Linked DNA regions of Homo sapiens: region 1 is linked to region 2. The links are contacts of gene promoters, found by promoter capture Hi-C in human tissues and cell types (Jung and others, 2019). All regions are on one chromosome and are shown on one strand. The core of a region is centred on a gene start or on the middle of the fragment in contact, and the rest is flanking DNA. Distances in the headings are between cores, read along the strand shown. Region 1 overlaps CLCA1 (chloride channel accessory 1). Region 2 holds the start of CLCA2 (chloride channel accessory 2).

Evidence for each region. The method cuts DNA at HindIII sites, captures the fragments that hold promoters and counts their contacts. A contact is called where the count stands out against the background at its distance.
Region 1: a contact is called between a fragment that was not itself captured here and the fragment with the promoter of CLCA2 in region 2, in 2 of the 25 tissues and cell types used here (liver and lymphoblastoid cells).

Annotation. Positions count from the first base shown.
Region 1 is chr1:86,488,581-86,494,357 of GRCh38, forward strand. CLCA1 (chloride channel accessory 1) reads left to right here. Exons shown (of 14, transcript NM_001285.4): 8 at 416-590; 9 at 2,685-2,791; 10 at 4,804-5,019; 11 at 5,607-5,777. The region is part of intron 1 of LOC124904210 (a long non-coding RNA gene); the gene reads right to left. Among named protein-coding and RNA genes, the nearest start is that of CLCA1, 23 kb to the left of the region's middle. The HindIII fragment of the contact is 7,623 bases long and covers 1-5,777 here.
Region 2 is chr1:86,422,547-86,428,447 of GRCh38, forward strand. CLCA2 (chloride channel accessory 2) reads left to right here and starts at 1,625. Exons shown (of 14, transcript NM_006536.7): 1 at 1,625-1,887; 2 at 2,793-2,930; 3 at 5,872-5,901. The coding sequence starts at 1,702. The HindIII fragment of the contact is 8,393 bases long and covers 1-3,521 here.

The DNA of each region.
Region 1 (5,777 bases), core at 815-3,314, 66 kb after region 2:
TATAAGTTAAAGTCTGCCCTGGGTCTAATATCCCCCCAATATAATCCCCATTAAATGAGATGGTTTCTGAAGGCATCTTGGAAGCTCTGAAAGCCTATCAAGGAGAGACCAAGTGAAGGAAACTAGGAACACCTTCTTTGCTGTTTCCCCAGTGCTGTCCACCCCTAGAGTTGCCCTGCATCCCACACCGTCCCTCTCTGCAGCAGACCAGCCAAGGGGAAAGACAGCGGTCAAGTTCCATGAATGCTGCTGGGTTAAGATTGTATCATTTCAAGACAGACAGATATTTGGTCATTCCCAGACAATTTTGGTTATTCCCTCTAGAATTTCTTTTCTCCTTTCCTGTAAGCAGAATTTTCATAAACACTTTGGCCACCCTAAGTCTGATAACTCGTGCCCTAAATTCTGTCCTTAGGTGATTAGGAAGAAATATCCAACTGATGGATCTGAAATTGTGCTGCTGACGGATGGGGAAGACAACACTATAAGTGGGTGCTTTAACGAGGTCAAACAAAGTGGTGCCATCATCCACACAGTCGCTTTGGGGCCCTCTGCAGCTCAAGAACTAGAGGAGCTGTCCAAAATGACAGGTGAGGGATGATTTGCTGAGACCCCCGGTATTGTCTCTCCTACTGGACTGTGAGCTCCAGTGAACTGGGGAGTGGGGGAAAGATGGGATGGAGAGAGATAGGATAACCTAATTGGCTAACTAGCCACCCTTACCCCTGAATGACTGTTTAAGTGGACTCTGCCCATTTATTTTAAAGCTTTGTGTCTAGGACTAAGGCAGCCTGGAGAAGATGGAACTAGCACAGCACTCTAGTGAGGACTCAGGACCTTCTTCCCGGGCCAGGAACCACTCCTTTCCAGTGGCAGCTGGCCAAGAGACCTAGGGGAGACAGATGACAAGCCACTAACTACATAACACCATGGCATAAGTGCTATATTAGCAACAGAAAGTACAATAAAGCACAAATAAGGGAGGCTTTAACTTTACCTGGAGAAAAAGCATTCAAGAAACAGGAGAAGTAGCAGGGAAGAGCAAAGGGCATGTTAAACAAGGCAAAAGATCACTCCCAAAATGGAATACAATGCAGTTCCTCCATAAAACCTTCACGTATTGTGTGTCTAACTCCCATACACAGACAGATGGTTAAAATAGATTCCATGTGTCACCAGCTTCTTTAGCAGAGTAGGTGAACACATATTTTTCTTTTTTAACTTAGGGATAATATTGTGGATCTCAATTATTATACTGAGTTGCCTTCTGAGGCCACTAAAATGCCAGAGCTGTTTATTCCTAATACTACCTGTCCTAGGCTGGGTTTCTTAGAAGCAGAGCCTGAGACAGGGATTTGGGTCCATGCAATTTATAGGAGAGAGAGCTCTTAGGAGAAAAGGAAGGAGGAAAGGATAGGGCCAGGGAAGGAGCTAAGCACTGATGCAGACCTAGTCGGAGTCTAGCTGTGCCCACAGGGGACTCTGGAATGGAAAGTACATCACAGACTTGTCTCACCTTGAGACAGGAGGGTGGCCTTTTGCACCATTGTGTCTATCAGTCTTTGGCTGTGGACTGTCAGAACAGGGCAGAGGAGAGGGGCATGTTATTTCTCTAGGTAGGGTGGCCCCTTTTGGTAAGATAATTCCCTGGAAGAGGAGGCAGCTATAAGCCAATGCCTAGAGCAGCTGGGAAGAGATGCACTTGGCTGGGTAAGGGGATGTGCGTGGGGCATCAACAGCCTTACTGAAATTATTTCCTTAAGTTCAGATGGAATTATAATAGTTAAAAAGTGCTTTCACATCAACTAACTTAGTGACACCTATTCTAAATAGCCCAGGACTGCCTGGCCTGGTGTAAAATCCTGTTTTTATAATATACTATTCTGTAAGTGTCCCTTTGTCCACTGTTTTTTCTTGCTGCTGTCACATATGTGCCTTTCCTCATTTAGAAGAAAACTCTAAAGCCACGTTTGTTGGAATTATGTTTCAAATAAGAGTAAATCGATAGTCCTGGAGTACGGCTTAATGACTTCTCTCATGTAAAAGTGCAGGACCTTTAATATGTAGATTTTATGACATCAATTTATATCATAAATTAATATCAAATCATATCAGAGATTCATGGCTGCTTTGCAGATAGTTGAAGTAGCCAGGTGACTGAGATGTTGCTGAAGCTATTATTTACTAAGATTTAAAAATTAGTGGCTGGGTGTGGTGGCTCACTCCTGTAATCCCAGAATTTTAGGAGGCCAAGGCAGGTGGATTGATTGAGCCCAGGAGTTCAAGACCAGCCTGAGTAACATGGCAAAACCCATCTCTAAAAAAAAAAAAAAAAAAAAAAATACAAAAATTAGACATGTTGGCATATGCTTGTAATCCCAGCTACTTGGGAGCTGAGGTAGGAAGATCGCTTGAGCCTGGAAGGTGGAGGTTGCAGTGAGCCAGGATCATGCCACTGTACTCCACCCTGGGCAACAGAGTGAGAGCCTGTCTTAGAAAAAATAAATAGGTTAAAAAAATACTATCAAATTCTGAGTTAATGTAGGCACCTATTTGATGTTGATCTATTTATACTTTAATAACACAAAGGGATATTTATATTGTATGCTCTCTAAACAACAGCTAAAATGTTGCAAATAGTTGCTTTCTGGAAAATAATTTCTGAAAATGTAATTGCATTTTAGGAGGTTTACAGACATATGCTTCAGATCAAGTTCAGAACAATGGCCTCATTGATGCTTTTGGGGCCCTTTCATCAGGAAATGGAGCTGTCTCTCAGCGCTCCATCCAGGTTGGAGTTCTTAATCTTTGGTTTTTCATATTTACACATAATCATAGCCAAGATGGAGAATTTAATGGCTAAAAGTTTTAAGTTTTCCACTCTTCTGGTACTGAATTAAAATGAAAATAGAAGGTCCAGCTTGATATTAAACATTATTCCTAAAATGCAACACTACTCATTTAAACAAGGCAATTAGTGTCTACTTGTTTGGAAGCAATACCAAGTGAATTCCTCACAGAAGTCAGCAGATAAAATGTCATATGTCCAAGAATTCTTTTTTAACATCTCTGAACAAGCAACTAGAGCAATATAATTGGCTCAGAATTTTCTTCAGAGTAGATCATCTCAATTACAAATTTTCTGGGACAAGTGTCCAGGGATTACTTGCTTTATTTTTCCATTACATCAAATTTCTGTTGTTTGCCAAGATTTACATATAATGGACAGAAAGTGCTTTGTACTGTAAAAAGCCAGTGGTGTGAGTCCAGACCCCTGGATCTTGGTCCTCGGTCTGCCATTAACTATGTGACCTAGGCAAAGAACTTCACCTCTGTGGACCTTCATTTCTCCACCAGGTAGAGACAGAAAACTTCCAATGGCCCATCTGGTCTAAAATTTCAAGAAAACCAAATTGCCTTTTAAAAGTCTTGAAACTATTAAGAAAAAAGAAAAATGTATTTTTTCAATGCTCTTTTTTAGTAATTGCAGAAATTATTCACATTAATTTTTAAACTAGAGAGAGTGAACAATCAGCATTCACACTGGTGTGAATTATAATTTTTATGATGAAAGTTCAGATAAAGATAAAGGAAAACTGTAATGTCAAAGCCTAATAATGAGAGATTTTGAAACCATAGGCTTTCTGGCTTACCAATGGAGCATTTATTCAATCTAGGAAGACAGCAATTATACCCATCTGGGTTATTCTGGTTCAGATTTAGAAAATTAAATGCAAGGGCCTGCTTTGGAAAAGGGAGGAATGTCTCCTAGAAAAGTAATTAAAGTGATAAAAGGACAAGTTCACATTTAGGAAATTTCTGCCTATGATTTTTGTATTTAAGAAACCTAACAGAGAGAGAGAGAGAGATGGAGAAATGAGCAAGACTCATTCACCAGTGTGCCACAAGAACCAGATCTAATAGCCCTTCGCTTTCTCCACTTGCCAGCTTGTGATCTACCTGTGAAACTAGGAAATCTGGCTCTATGACCAGCCCACTCTGTCTTCTAATAGGTGCTAACTCTGAGACAATAACTACCTAGGAGATAATCCTCAAAATCACATTTTCTAAAAAAGCCTTGTTAATCCTTCCTTACCTCACTCCCACTCTGCAGCTCCCTCATTCTATTCCAAACAAGCTGGCCTTGGCTTATGTCATTTATCTCCACAGGGCCTGCAATACTACCTGACTTAGCAATTAGGTAATTCAGACAATCCATGCGTGGGTAAAAAATAAGTCACAGTGAGTCCCCTTAAGGGTTCATAGTCTAATAAATAAGATGAGCTTCATATACCAATAAATATAGGGCGAAGCACAATATGATGAATGTCGAAGGATTGATAGAAATAAAATCCTATAGGAGATCAGAGGAAGGGGAGATTTTTTACAACTGGTAAATGAGATGGACAGCAGAGAAACCTTCATGGAGAAAGTAATATTTGAATTTTGAAGGATGGGTAAGGCTTAGACAAACAGAGAAGACTAAGAAGGCTTAGATAAATGGAGAAGACAAATGTAAAGCCTTCTAGGAAAACTAAAGAGTACGATAATAAAGTCAAAGAGTCAGGGATTCACAAGGACCTTTGGGGAGTGGTCTTGTTTGGGTGGAGGATGGAAAATTGTGGAAGCTAAGGCTAGAAAGGTAACTTAGAACTGCATCATAATTGCTCCTAACACCAAATCAAGGATTCAGGCATCACTGAAGTCTTTTTAATGGCGCACTGGGGAGACAGGGGCAGAAGGGAAAAGATCATGTGATGGGAGCTGTATTCTCCAGAAAGTAAGAGCTGTTTTTCTTAACAGCTTGAGAGTAAGGGATTAACCCTCCAGAACAGCCAGTGGATGAATGGCACAGTGATCGTGGACAGCACCGTGGGAAAGGACACTTTGTTTCTTATCACCTGGACAATGCAGCCTCCCCAAATCCTTCTCTGGGATCCCAGTGGACAGAAGCAAGGTGGCTTTGTAGTGGACAAAAACACCAAAATGGCCTACCTCCAAATCCCAGGCATTGCTAAGGTATGGAGTCAGCTTTTTTTCTTTCTCATAATTCAACAAGATAAAATAAAGTTTTTACAGAATAATTGTAGCATTTTAAATGTTGGTGGTTGCTAAAAGGAGAGTCAGTATTGAATCAAAGAGAGAACGAGGAAAAAAAATCTCCATCCAATGAAAATCACTCAGTATGTCAGCAAGTAAAGACAAAGGAAATAGGTGATATTTTGTCCAGGTACTAAATGGAGAACCTTTAAATTACATAGTAATCAAGATGCAAAATGATCCTCGACATTTTGGGATCATAAAAGTTATTTCCTTTATCTCAGAGACTCATCTCTTATAAAACCAAGGCAACAATAAGCATATAGCTTTCAGACCTCACCATCCCCCTCCCACCCGCCGTGGAATTTTCTTGACAATGGGAATGATATAGTTAGTTCAAACACACTGAAGCTCCCCGTGGCTGACAGAGTATCAAACATGCACACCTCTTCTTAGATATGCTTCCAACATGCTTATATCAGAGGGTTTTCCCGTACGTGACATTGAAGTCAGGTCTGTGTCACCTGAAGTTATTCATTGGAAATGTTTACATGTGTTTTGGTCAGGTTGGCACTTGGAAATACAGTCTGCAAGCAAGCTCACAAACCTTGACCCTGACTGTCACGTCCCGTGCGTCCAATGCTACCCTGCCTCCAATTACAGTGACTTCCAAAACGAACAAGGACACCAGCAAATTCCCCAGCCCTCTGGTAGTTTATGCAAATATTCGCCAAGGA
Region 2 (5,901 bases), core at 375-2,874:
TTATACAATATAAATTTGACATTGTTACCATGATCATACTGCAAAGGTGAGTTATCTGATGCTATGGAAGCATGAAAGAAGGGAATTTGACTTAGTTATGGAGCTCAGGCCAGGCTTCCAGGACACAGCTGGAATTTGAAGGAAAAGCAGGTGAGAAGAAGCATGAGAAAATGATTCAAGCAAGACAGCAAGGGGAAAAAAATTCCCTCAACATCTGTCAACATTGCAGTGCAATATCAAAGCCCAAGTTCAGAAGACTCCAACCTTGCTGGGAAGAAGAGTGACATCACACTGCCCATGAAGATGTTGAAAACAGACAATGTTGGTGAAATCCCTGTTGAGAGCAGGGACAGACCGTTTCCTAAATGCTACACTCCCCTCCCCAGAAATGTTCCGAGACGGGGCCACAGCAGGGAAGAGTCACAGGTTTTGCTTGCTGTGGACCTCTGACGCTGTGAATAAAACTTTTTCTTTAGTTTTACAATAGATGTCACTGTGCGGCATTCTTAAACACAAAGAAGAGGGAGAAACGAGGTTACTAAGATAATTTAGTAACTAAGAGAGAACATGATATATTGAAAAACAGTGGAATTTGGAGTCAGTTGGTTCATTCTAGTACGATGATAATACTCCCAACCTTGAACAAGTTACTTAGATTTTTTTGAACATTAGTTCTGTCACCCATAAAATAGGCATAATAAAATCCATCACTCAAAAAATGTTAGTTTCTTCTCTCATTGGCTAATTTTCATAATCAGAATTTCCAAGACTCATTATTTTCATTTGAAAAGTACAAATTATACCTGCATCAGAGTATTGATATTTAAATGAGTTCATTTGTAAACTTTAAAGCATGAGGTAAATATCAGGTATTATGAATCAGTCATAAAATATTTGCGATGGTTACTATATATTAGATCCTGTTTTTGGTCCTGGAGAAATGGAGGGTTGACTGAAGCAGGGCCTTGCCCTTAGGAGAGAGCTGAAGGAGAAATCTATTCTTCTTCCTGAGGCAGAGAGAAAAGGTAGCAAGGCCAGAGGGAAAGGGCTGCACAGGCACCCAAGTTCCTGGCAGTTGGCCCTCTCTGGGGGATATCTGATATCTGACCTCCAGCCATCAGCTGAGAGCTTGCCCAGACTATCTGACCCAAGGGCTGTAGGGACTGGGCTGCAGAATGGATTTCTAAATCTTCAAAATAAACAGGCAAGGAAATCTTGCAACAAATGAAAAATGACTTGAGGGCAGTAGAAAGTACTTGTGCCAACTGATGGAGGAGGTTATGAAAAATGAGGAGAGGAAAATCACTATAGACTTCTGTGTTTCTACTGCAAGTGGATTGAACAGTCCAGATATACTGATTTCCAGCCCATATTTCCTGCTTTTAAGCTCCTTTGGTCTTATTTCCCTCTTCTTTCTGAAAAGTTATAAAATGAATGAAGGGCAGAATGTTTCTTGCCCAACCATGATTCAGGAGGCAGCTCAGCCACAGAACAGGCAAGTGTAGCATTGCCTGGAGGAAAAGGACTTGTAGAGGCAGGTCCCAGATGGATCCACCCCAGACTTTTCAAAGAAGACACCTCCTTCATCTTGTGTTCTAAAACCTTGCAAGTTCAGGAAGAAACCATCTGCATCCATATTGAAAACCTGACACAATGTATGCAGCAGGCTCAGTGTGAGTGAACTGGAGGCTTCTCTACAACATGACCCAAAGGAGCATTGCAGGTCCTATTTGCAACCTGAAGTTTGTGACTCTCCTGGTTGCCTTAAGTTCAGAACTCCCATTCCTGGGAGCTGGAGTACAGCTTCAAGACAATGGGTATAATGGATTGCTCATTGCAATTAATCCTCAGGTACCTGAGAATCAGAACCTCATCTCAAACATTAAGGTGAGTGGAAATTATGAAATTGATACTAGCATCCCATTTGATCAGACCTGTAGCCTTATTTAGAAGCTAACTACCCTGCCTGGTTTGTATTTGAGTAATACAGAGAACAGCATTTTTAAAAGATAGCGCCACAACGTTATGATTATGGCTAACTAAGCCAGTTTGTTCATCTAATTCTGTGTAGTCTCAGCTCACAGAGTGTTGATCTAGCCCTCTATTTTGTTATTGTTGGTTGCTACTAATTTCAGCTCTTTTGTTTTCCTACATGACTGTTTTTGGGGTAGCAACTTAGAAAAATAACAACCCATTGTGGCAACAAAGATTGAATATTTAACTGATGAATAAGCATGATAATGAGCATGCTTGTTAAAATCATATTGCTAGATTCCATCCTGAGGGTGAGAATTCTCAGGCAGAAAGGGTGAGAGTCTGCACGGTGGGCCAAAAAGCAAAATTATTTCTTTTCACTTGAATGTGCTGTAACATAATTGACTATTTTTACTTTAATATGGCAAGGGAGGATCATAGCTCTATGATGTAAGAGCCTCCATTTAGTATTGCTTTAGTGAAATCAGTAGCATCATAAGGTGTGGTCTTGAATGTGCCCACAGGTGTGACATGAAAAGGATTTGTTCCACAAAAGCTTAAAAGCCTTTCTCAAAATTGGGAAAACTATGAAGGCAAGCACAGACATATAATTAGTGTCCTAAAATCTTCCATATAATCATTTAAAGTTTTTTTAAAAATTTGCTCCTATGTTTTCCCAAAGTCTAGGGCTTTCTCTAAAAGAAATGGGTCTCTTCAAAATATTTCATTGTCTTTTATTACTGTTTAAGCATACCAGAAAACCAAAACATACAGGATTTACAAGTGGTAAAGTAAGTTTTTCTTTTGTCTGGCTGTAGGAAATGATAACTGAAGCTTCATTTTACCTATTTAATGCTACCAAGAGAAGAGTATTTTTCAGAAATATAAAGATTTTAATACCTGCCACATGGAAAGCTAATAATAACAGCAAAATAAAACAAGAATCATATGAAAAGGTAAGAATCCAGGATTTCATTCAATGATCTCAAGGGGAAAAAAAACACCAAAATATACTGTGCTCAAACGATAAAAGTGAGAAGTTAAGTAAAAACAAATCATCAGTATTAACAATGCAAATAATATTAATGGGCAGAATGTTATCAACAAAATATATGAGAATAAATGAATGCAAATTGTGCAGTAAAAAATGAGTCAAATGCCATAGCCTAAGTAGTTTCTCAGAAGATCTCTTTATTTTGTAACTTATGGAGTACTTTCTGAAAAGTTTGGTTGAGGATCAAGAACTAGTTTTATCCTACTGAGGATGAGCTGCAAAGGGAACAGTTCCAATTATGACTATACCCATTTACCATCCTGTCAGGAGCAATAAACATGCATGTCCAGACAGAAATATAAACCACCATGCATATAAAAATATGACTGCCATCTTATGCCATGGTGTAGATTATCAGAATTTCACATTAGCTCAAGTCCAGAATATTGTTTTAGGGGAATAAGGAGATTAGAAGGAAGGGAGGAAGGATGTGGGGATGTGGATGAGTAGGGGAATGGCTACCTTTTTTTTTCCACCTATAGAGGAACTTCACCTTGAAAGGCTCTCATAAGTTGCAGATCATGATTAAGCACCCATGATGATGTCTGGTACATACTAGTGTGCACACTATAAATAAATGATAAATAATATAAATGGTAAATCACTGTTTGAAGTCAACTGTGAACAAGAGTCCATTGCAGCTACCAGAAGGGCCAGAAGTAGAGGCATTGGCAACTTATCTCAGGGTTTCAGCAATGGAGTGGGTTTGAGATTGTAACTACATCTCTAACAGAATGACTCAAACATGTGGTACAGCTTTCCCCTTTCCTTATTTCTGACCCTCAGTATGAAATTTCCTAAGTCTGTTTCATTCTTAGCTCTCCTTCAAAGCTACTCTGTCAGAAATTGAATGGTATAGCAATCCAGATAGGTACCCCAATGTCCTGAAGAAGTTAAAGAGCCTGTGAAAAGCATTTGACCTATGACCAGATGAAAGCATTTGAGAATGCTTGCACATGAAGATAGGATAGGTGGGGGAACTGGGGTAAGCTGGGAAGAGTTAGTGTTTAAGCTCCAACTAAGTGCCAGGCATTTTACATATATTATTTAATTCTCACATAACTTAAAATTAGTTTCTGTGATCACAAATTAAAACACTGGGGCTTGAATAAGGTATGGACTTTGTCCCAAATCTAACAGCTAGTAAATTACAGAGCCATAATTTGAATGTCTATTTGCCTCCAAAACCCATGCTTTTTGCACTAAGCTTTGTTGTCTCTAGCTGTCAATAGAGATTTAATGCATCTATTGGGCCTTCAATAGAACTAAGAAGTATTGGAGACAACAAACACCAAAACCAGGTTGCCATAGGTAACACTTGATCCTAATGGAGGGGAGAGAAATAAGTAAAGCAAAAGTGAAAATATGAGTGAACGGAAAGACCAAAGGAAACAATCGTCCCTGGATGCTGTTCATTTATCTGTTGGATACCAATTCTTTAACCTCAGAATGTCAATTAAGCAAACAGTGAATGATCATTATGTACGGGACCACGCTAGGCACTTCAGAGAACCCAAGGACCAGCAAGGTAGTTCCTGTCCTTCCAAGTCTACAATGAGATGTAGGTAGGAATCATGGAAGGGGGAAAGGGTTAGGAAAAGTAGATAAGAGCTGAATTACTGTGGTCTATAAGGTATAAAGTAACCCCAAACAGCCTCTGAGTATTCCATTCCATGAAGGGCACTCTTTCCTTTTGGCCTCAGGACAAATTTTCAGACATAGGAATGAGGTTTTACCCAAGTGAGGACTATCCAAGAGTGTGACCTCTTCAGCCTTTTTTGTAGGTACTTCCTTGTAATGACCTTGGCTTGAATTCTTATCTTTCTAAAAATAAATGTTAATTATTATAAAAGTAATTTATACTCATTGAAAAAAATTAAATAATGTAGAAACATGGAAAATAAAAATGAAAAATTGTATTGTCCTCTTCTTCTCAGTGGCACACACACAGACACAGATGGACACACATACATACACACACACACACACACACACACACAAAACACATATACATATTGTACATAGAGTGATAATTGTGTATATTGGATCGTATTAGATCTATTTTTCTAAAATCAGCTTTTAAAAAAACTTAACAGCATATTTAACTTTTAAGTGCATATCCAGAACAATCTGTCATCTTTCTTCCCAAAAATAAAAGAAACAATGTTATATATAACATTTTCTTGTCTTGATAGTTATATGAGTGGATATTTCAGTTTTGGACTTAAAATCTGTTTTAGCAACAGTAATGGAAATGGTCAGGCCATAAGATGAAATATAACTTCATTGGAATGATCGTTTTGCTGATCTAATTGGTTACAGGAAAGAAAGGACAAATTTTCAAAGAAATAATGTTCTATTGTCTTACACCAATAAAATAACCCACAGAAAGTTGTTCACAAAAGGCTGTAACATTTTACAGCCTTCTGAATGGTTCTGAACGATGTATAAATGCTTTTAGAATTTCTTCAAATATTTTAATTGCATTTTATAGTGTTTTGTTATATCAGACTTTTACAGGATTGACTTTTGAGAATATTTTAATCTGGAATGTGGAAAGATCAAATGGAAGTAATTAGGTTCCATAAAAATTTGCTAAGCTTTCATAACATAGACCTTTTTGGAAATCCCAAGTGATTTTATTGATATGTAGCTGTGGGTGCATTTTAAACTCCATCCACAAGGTGTTTTTCTTCAATTTTGTTTTTAAATTGGGTTATAATTACATACAATAAAATGCACACATCTTAAGTGTACAGTTCAAAGTGCTTTAATGAATGTATACATTTATGTCACCAACAACAGAGCTGAGAAAGTATTACAAGGCATTTCTTTTAATTTAGGCAAATGTCATAGTGACTGACTGGTATGGG